Regions from separate parts of the Homo sapiens genome. Here region 2 is linked to region 1. Evidence: promoter capture Hi-C in human tissues and cell types (Jung and others, 2019). All regions are on one chromosome and are shown on one strand. The core of a region is centred on a gene start or on the middle of the fragment in contact, and the rest is flanking DNA. Distances in the headings are between cores, read along the strand shown. Region 1 holds the start of ARMC3 (armadillo repeat containing 3). Region 2 overlaps MLLT10 (MLLT10 histone lysine methyltransferase DOT1L cofactor).

The links. The method cuts DNA at HindIII sites, captures the fragments that hold promoters and counts their contacts. A contact is called where the count stands out against the background at its distance.
Region 2: a contact is called between a fragment that was not itself captured here and the fragment with the promoter of ARMC3 in region 1, in 1 of the 25 tissues and cell types used here (dorsolateral prefrontal cortex).

Annotation. Positions count from the first base shown.
Region 1 is chr10:22,926,674-22,929,811 of GRCh38, reverse strand. ARMC3 (armadillo repeat containing 3) reads right to left here and starts at 1,759. Exons shown (of 19, transcript NM_173081.5): 1 at 1,706-1,759. The HindIII fragment of the contact is 8,735 bases long and covers 1-3,138 here.
Region 2 is chr10:21,580,590-21,583,852 of GRCh38, reverse strand. All of the region lies in intron 3 of MLLT10 (MLLT10 histone lysine methyltransferase DOT1L cofactor), which reads right to left. It also overlaps the pseudogene LOC100422524. Among named protein-coding and RNA genes, the nearest start is that of MLLT10, 48 kb to the right of the region's middle. The HindIII fragment of the contact is 5,411 bases long and covers 1-3,263 here.

The sequences.
Region 1 (3,138 bases), core at 510-3,009:
TGGGAGGCTGAGGCGGGTGGATCACCTGAGGTCAGGAGCTCAAGACCAGCCTGGACAACATGGCAAAACTCTGTCTCTACTAAAAATACAAAAATTAGCCTGGAGTGGCGGTGGCATGTGCCTGCATTCCCAGCTACTGGGGAGGCTGAGGCAGGAGAATTGCTTGAGGCCGGGAGGCGGAGGTTGCAATAAGCTGAGATCACCCCATTGCACTCCAGCCTGGGTGACAGAGCGAGACTCTGTCTCCTCCCCCAAAAAAAGCCTATGTGTTTTATCACCATATTGGGTATGATAGTTAATGGAGGAGAGACTGAACAGCTGACATAGGTCGGTGGCAATGAGCTATGGAGATGATCCTTACAAGGGTAATACATTTCACTGTGGAGAATTTGGAAAACAAGGGCACAACGAATAAAATAAAAATCACCCAAAGATAAGCTCAGAGAGATCAATACTATTTCTTTTCTTTTCCTTTCCTTTCCTTTCCTTTCCTTTCTTTTTCTTTTTCTTTCTCTTTCTCTCTCTCTTTCTCTCTCTCTCTCTCCCTCTCTCTCTCTCTTCTCTTTTTTTCTTTTTCTTTTTCTTTTTTGAGACAGAGTCTCACTCTGTTGCCCAGGCTGGAGAGTGGCCTGATCTTGGCTCATTGCAACCTCCACCTCCCAGGTTTAAGAGATTCTCCTGCCTCAGCCTCCTGAGTAGCTGGGATTACAGGTACCCGCCACCACGCTCGGCTAATTTTTGTATTTTCAGTAGAGACAGGTTTCCCCACATTGACCAGGTTGGTCTCGAACTCCTGACTTCAGGCGATCCACCCGCCTCAGCCTCCCAAAGTGCTGGGGTTGTAGGCGTGAGCCACCGTACCTGGCTTTGTGTGTTTTTCTAAAGTGATTTTAACATCCTGCCTCAACTTCTATCCCCTACTTTCACCTTCCCTTCCTGGGTTCATATTCCTACTAAATTCTTATATTAACAAATAAATTCATGAAGTCTCAGTTTCCCTTCATTGCTTTAATAATCTCCAGTGGATTAGCATAACATGCCATTACAAATATTTTAAAATCCCTTAGCTATCTAGCCAGTCTCTGATTGTTGAAATTTGTTTCTAATTTTCTGGAAATATGGACAGGGCTGAAAGAACGTCCTTGGACATAAAATTTTCATCCATTATCCCCAACTATTTCTTTAGGATAAATCTCTAGCAGTAAATTAACTGGGTGAAAACTTCAGGGCATTGGATATGCAAACAACTCTGCTCTAAAAATGCATCTTCTTGACTACTGGAGCCATTTTTTTTTTCACGAGTTGATTGGTCCTTTGTATTTGTTCTTCGTGAACGTTCAGCCTATGATTTTAAATATTTTCTAATGAGTTCTGCTTTGAGAAGATTTAAAGAGGAGGAGGGCTCAAGAAATCGAGGCCACTTCTGAGTTGCTCACAGTCAAGTAACGGAATCTGACTTGATCTCACCTCAGATCCCCTCTCGGGCCTCAGTTTTGTCACCTGTTGAATGGGAGGTGGCGGGATGCTTACGAAACCCACCCCAAGCCCCGTCTAACCCTGCGGGCGCGAGGCAGAAACTAACAACGCCCAGCAAGGTGTTGCCTCACTGACCCAAGCAGTCTGCGCCCACGTGGCACCTTCTCCTTTCCCAGGTTTTCCTCAGGCCTCTGCCTTGGGCCTCCCCACCCCACGGGGTTACCTTTACCTGCCGGGAGATCCCGCCGAGTAGCTAGCTGCTCCGCAAACCCAGCAGACGAACCCCCAGTCCCTTGTTGTGCCTCGTTGCTAGGCGACGCCACGCCGCGCCGCGCCTGCGCCCTGGGAACGCTCGGGGCTGCTAGGGCGCCCATTGTCCCGCCGAGGGCAGCGGCCAGTGCGGGAGGAGCCAAGTGCGTCCGCGATTACCTGAATCCAGTGCTTTAGGGGAGAATGGAAACTGGGGGTGGAAGCTGTAAATCAAGAGGCAGTTCAGCCTCAGTTTCTGGCCCAAGGACTGGCTGTGGGTTCAAATACGCAAATACTATTGCATTCTTCCAAATAGAGGCGTCAGCCGGAATCTCTATGCAGATGAAACCCACATCAGCCACCTCCTGCCCAGGCTCCGTTAAGCTGCAGACCTGCACTGCCACATCTCTTTGCACTAGGATGTCCAATCCGTTTCCACAGAACTTCTCATGGCCCTTCAAAGCCCCGTTCTCTTCCTCTTTCTTTCCTCTTCCTGCCATTCTTCCAATTGCCTAGACTCAGAAGGAGCTTCAATTTCCCTTCTTCCTCCCATGCCCCCCAACCACAGTCATCACTTCAGCCACTTCTTGGCGGCTTACATTTTGTTTCCTGCTTGTTCCCTTTCTCATATCCTTATTGTCACTTCAATCCAGCTCGTCATTTTTTGGCCTTCTGGCTGAGAAATTCAGTTGCTCTCTGCTTACAGTTCTTTCTACGTATCACAGGCAAATCGGCCATCCAGAAATCATCGTTCCAGTCTTGTCACTTCCCTACTCAAATGTCAGCGGCTTCCTAAGATAAATTTTCAACACATTGGCCTGGAATTTAAGACCGTCTGCTCCATCTCTACTCCATCTGTGCAACCACATTTTCAACCGATCTCCACCATCCAAGCTCCAGCCAAACTTACTGTTCCCGAAATTTTCCACACTTTTCTCTAGATTTTCTTGCTTATCTGTTCATCACTTCATTTTTCAACAAATATTTATAAAGTAGCTTCTATTTCCCAGGTCATGTGCAATACCTGAAATATTCTCTCATTTCCACTTAATTAAGCCCAGCTCAAATGCCATCTTCATAAAATATTTTTTGATTGCCTTTAGCAAAAAGTCTCTCCCTCTCCTCTTAGACTTTGCAAATTCCGTCTCCTACCGGCCCCTGTTGGTCTCCCAGTCCTAAGAATGATAGATGCTTCTTATAATTGCTACTTTTATATATCTTATGTTCTCTTCTCACCATTTAAATTGCCTGATAAACAGCTTTATAACAATTATTTGTATTCAGTTTTCCATGGTCAAATATCCGGTGTGACTTCTGTATAGAAAAGATCTTAAGTAATGGTCATGAAAGTAGGAAAAGGATTAAGACCAAGTAGCATCAAGGAAACTAAGGAGGGAGTTTCAAGAATATAAG
Region 2 (3,263 bases), core at 542-3,041, 1.3 Mb after region 1:
TGGATATTTGTGCCTCCAAATCTCATGTAAAAATGTAATCCCAATGTTGAAGGTGGAAACTAGCAAAAGGTGTTTGGGTAATGGGGGCAGATCCCTCATGAATGTCTTGGTGTTTTCCCTGTGGTAATGAGTGAGTTTCTTGCTGTTGTTAGCTCATGTGAGATCTGATTGGTAAAAAGAGCCTGCCACCTTGCTCCCTTCTCTCACCATGTGACACTCCTGGTCCCCATTCCCACTGCCCCATGAGTAAAAGTTTCCTCAGCCCAAAGATGTTGGTGGTATACTTGTACAGCCTACAGAACTGTGAACCAAATAAACCTCTTTTCTTTATATTAATAATCTACCCAGTTTCAGGTATTCCTTTAACCTGAAACAGGCTAATACCACTATACTTCTTGCCTTTCAGTATTTCACTCTCCTGATTTTCCTATTACCTCTTTGGCAGCACCTTTCTGATCACCCTATCAAACCTTTAAATGGTGAAATTCCTCAGGGCTCTGGCCTAAGATGTCATCTTATTTCACATGAAACACTAGGCAATCTTACTCATTGTCCAAATTTCCATTACCAACTAAATTATAAAAATGTAACAGTGACTCCCAAATTTTATCTATTTGTATCTGTCCTCAGGTTCAGGTATAAAACTCTATATGCTACATAAACACTTTATTTTATTTTATTTTGAGATGGAGTCTCACTCTGTTGCCCAGGCTGGAGTGCAGTGGCTCAATCTCGGCTCACTGCAACCTCCAGCTCCAGAGTTCAAGCAATTCTCCTGCCTCAGCCTCCCAAGGAGCTGCAATTACAGGTGTGTGCCACCACGTCCAGCTAACTTTTTCTATTTTTAGTAGAAATAGGGTTTCGTCATGTTGCCCAGGTTGGTCTCAAACTCCTGGCCTCAAGTGATCCACTCACCTCAGCCTCCTAAAGTGCTAGGATTACAGTGAGCCACCTCACCCAGCCTACATAGACACTTGAAACGCTCCACAATTTATGACAAAATCTGCTCTTCCTGCTCTTTTCATATACTGGTAATGATATTTTCAATGACACATTGCTCACGCAAGACACCTAGTATACGTCATCTTTGACCACTTCATGCCTCACTCCCTAATCTCACTTTTAATCCATAACTGTATTGTGCCCTTCCTCTTCCTAAATACTGGTGAGATCTGCCTCTCTCTCTCCATCTCCACTATTACCCTACTTAAAGCAAGCATCACCTTTCATCAGGACCACTTCAGTCACCTCCTAAATGCAGTAGTCCCCCAGTTATCCATGGGAGAAACATTCTAAGAACCCCAGTGGATGTCTGAAACAACAAATGGTACTGAGCACTTGATTCTGTTTTTTGCTATACATACATACCTATAAAAAGTTTAATTTATAAATTAGGCACAGTAACAGATTAACAACAACAATAAAATAGAACAGGCTGGGTGTAGTGGCTCACACCTATAATCCCAGGATTTTGGGAGGCTGAGGCGGGCAGATCACCTGAGGTCAGGAGTTCGAGACCAGCCTGGCCAACATGGTGAAACCCTATCTCTACTAAAAACACAAAAAAATTAGCTGCATGTGGTGGCACGTGCCTGCAGTCCCAGCTAAGCAGGAGGCTAAGGCACAAAAATCGATTGAACCTAGGAGACTGCAGTGAGCCAAGATCGTTCCACTGCACTCCAGCCTGGGCAACAGAGAAAGAGACTCCACCTCAAAAAATTTTTAAAAATTAAAAAAAAAAAATAACAATGTACTATAAGAAAAGCTATATGAATGTGGTCTCTCTCAAAATGCAGTCTGCATAACAACAACCACATATACAGTGGTGGTCCCATGAGATTAAATGGAACTAAAAAATTCCTATTGCCTAGTGACGTAATGATGTAATAGCCATAGTAACATGACAGAGCAATTTTTAAAATAAATTTAGTGTACATTAAGTGTACAATGTTTATAAAGTCTATAGTAGTTGTAGCAGTCCATTCTCTCACTGCTATAAAGAACTACCTGAGACTGGGCAATTTATAAAGAAAAGAGGCTTAATTGACTCACAGTTCCACATGGCTGAGGAGGCCTCAGGAAACTTTCAATCATCACAGGAGGGGAAGCAAGCACATCTTACATAGCAGCAAGCAAGAGAAAGAGAATGTGTACATAGGAAAAAACTGCCACTTTCAAAACCATCAGACCGCAAGAGAATTCACTCGCTATCATGAGAACAGGATGGGGGAAACTGCCCCCATTATCCAGTCACCTCCCTCCTTCAACACATAGGGATTACAATTCGAGATGAGATTTCAGTGGGGATACACAGCCAAACCCTATCAGTAGTGTACAAAAATGTCCCAGGCTTTCACATTCACTCACCACTTACTCACTGACTCACCCAGAGCAACTTCTAGTCCTGTAAGCTTCATTCATGGTAAAGCCCTATACAAGTGCATTTTTTAAAATCTTTCATACCATTATTTTAGCTGTACCTTTTCTATGTTTAAAAACACAAATATGGCTGGGCGCAGTGGCTCACGCCTGTAATCTCAGCACTTTGGGAGGCCGAGGCAGGCAATCACGAGGTCAGGAGATCGAGACCATCCTGGCTAACACGGTGAAACCCCGTCTCTACTAAAAGTACAAAAAAAATAAGCCAGGTGTGATAGTGGGCGCCTGTAGTCCCAGCTACTAGGGAGGCTGAGGCAGGAGGATGGTGTGAACCCGGGAAGCAGAGCTTGCAGTGAGCCGAGATCGTGCCACTGCACTCTAGCCTGGGCTACAGAGCAAGACTCCGTCTCAAAAAAAAAAAAAAAAAAATTCACTGAACATTAAAAGAAAATACACAAAATAGGCTGGACACAGTGTCTCACGCCTGTAATTCTAACACTTTGGGAAGCCAATGCAGGCAGATCATGAGGTCAGGAGTTCGAGACCAGCCTAGCCAACATAGTGAAACTCCGTCTCTACTAAAAAAAAAAAAAAAAAAAAAAAAATGAGCTGGGCGTGGTGGTGTGCACCTGTAATCCCAACTACTCGGGAGGCTGGGGCAGGAGAATTCCATGAACCCAGGAGGCAGAGGTTTCAGTGAGTCAAGATCGCGCCATTGCATTCCAGCCCAGGCGACAGTGCAAGACTCTGTCTCAAAAAAAAAGAAAAGAAAATACACAAAATAGGACGGGTGTGGAGGCTCACGCCTGTAATCCCAGCACCTTGGGAGGCCGAGGCAGGCAGATCACGAGGTCAGGAGATCGAGACCATCCTGGCTAACACAG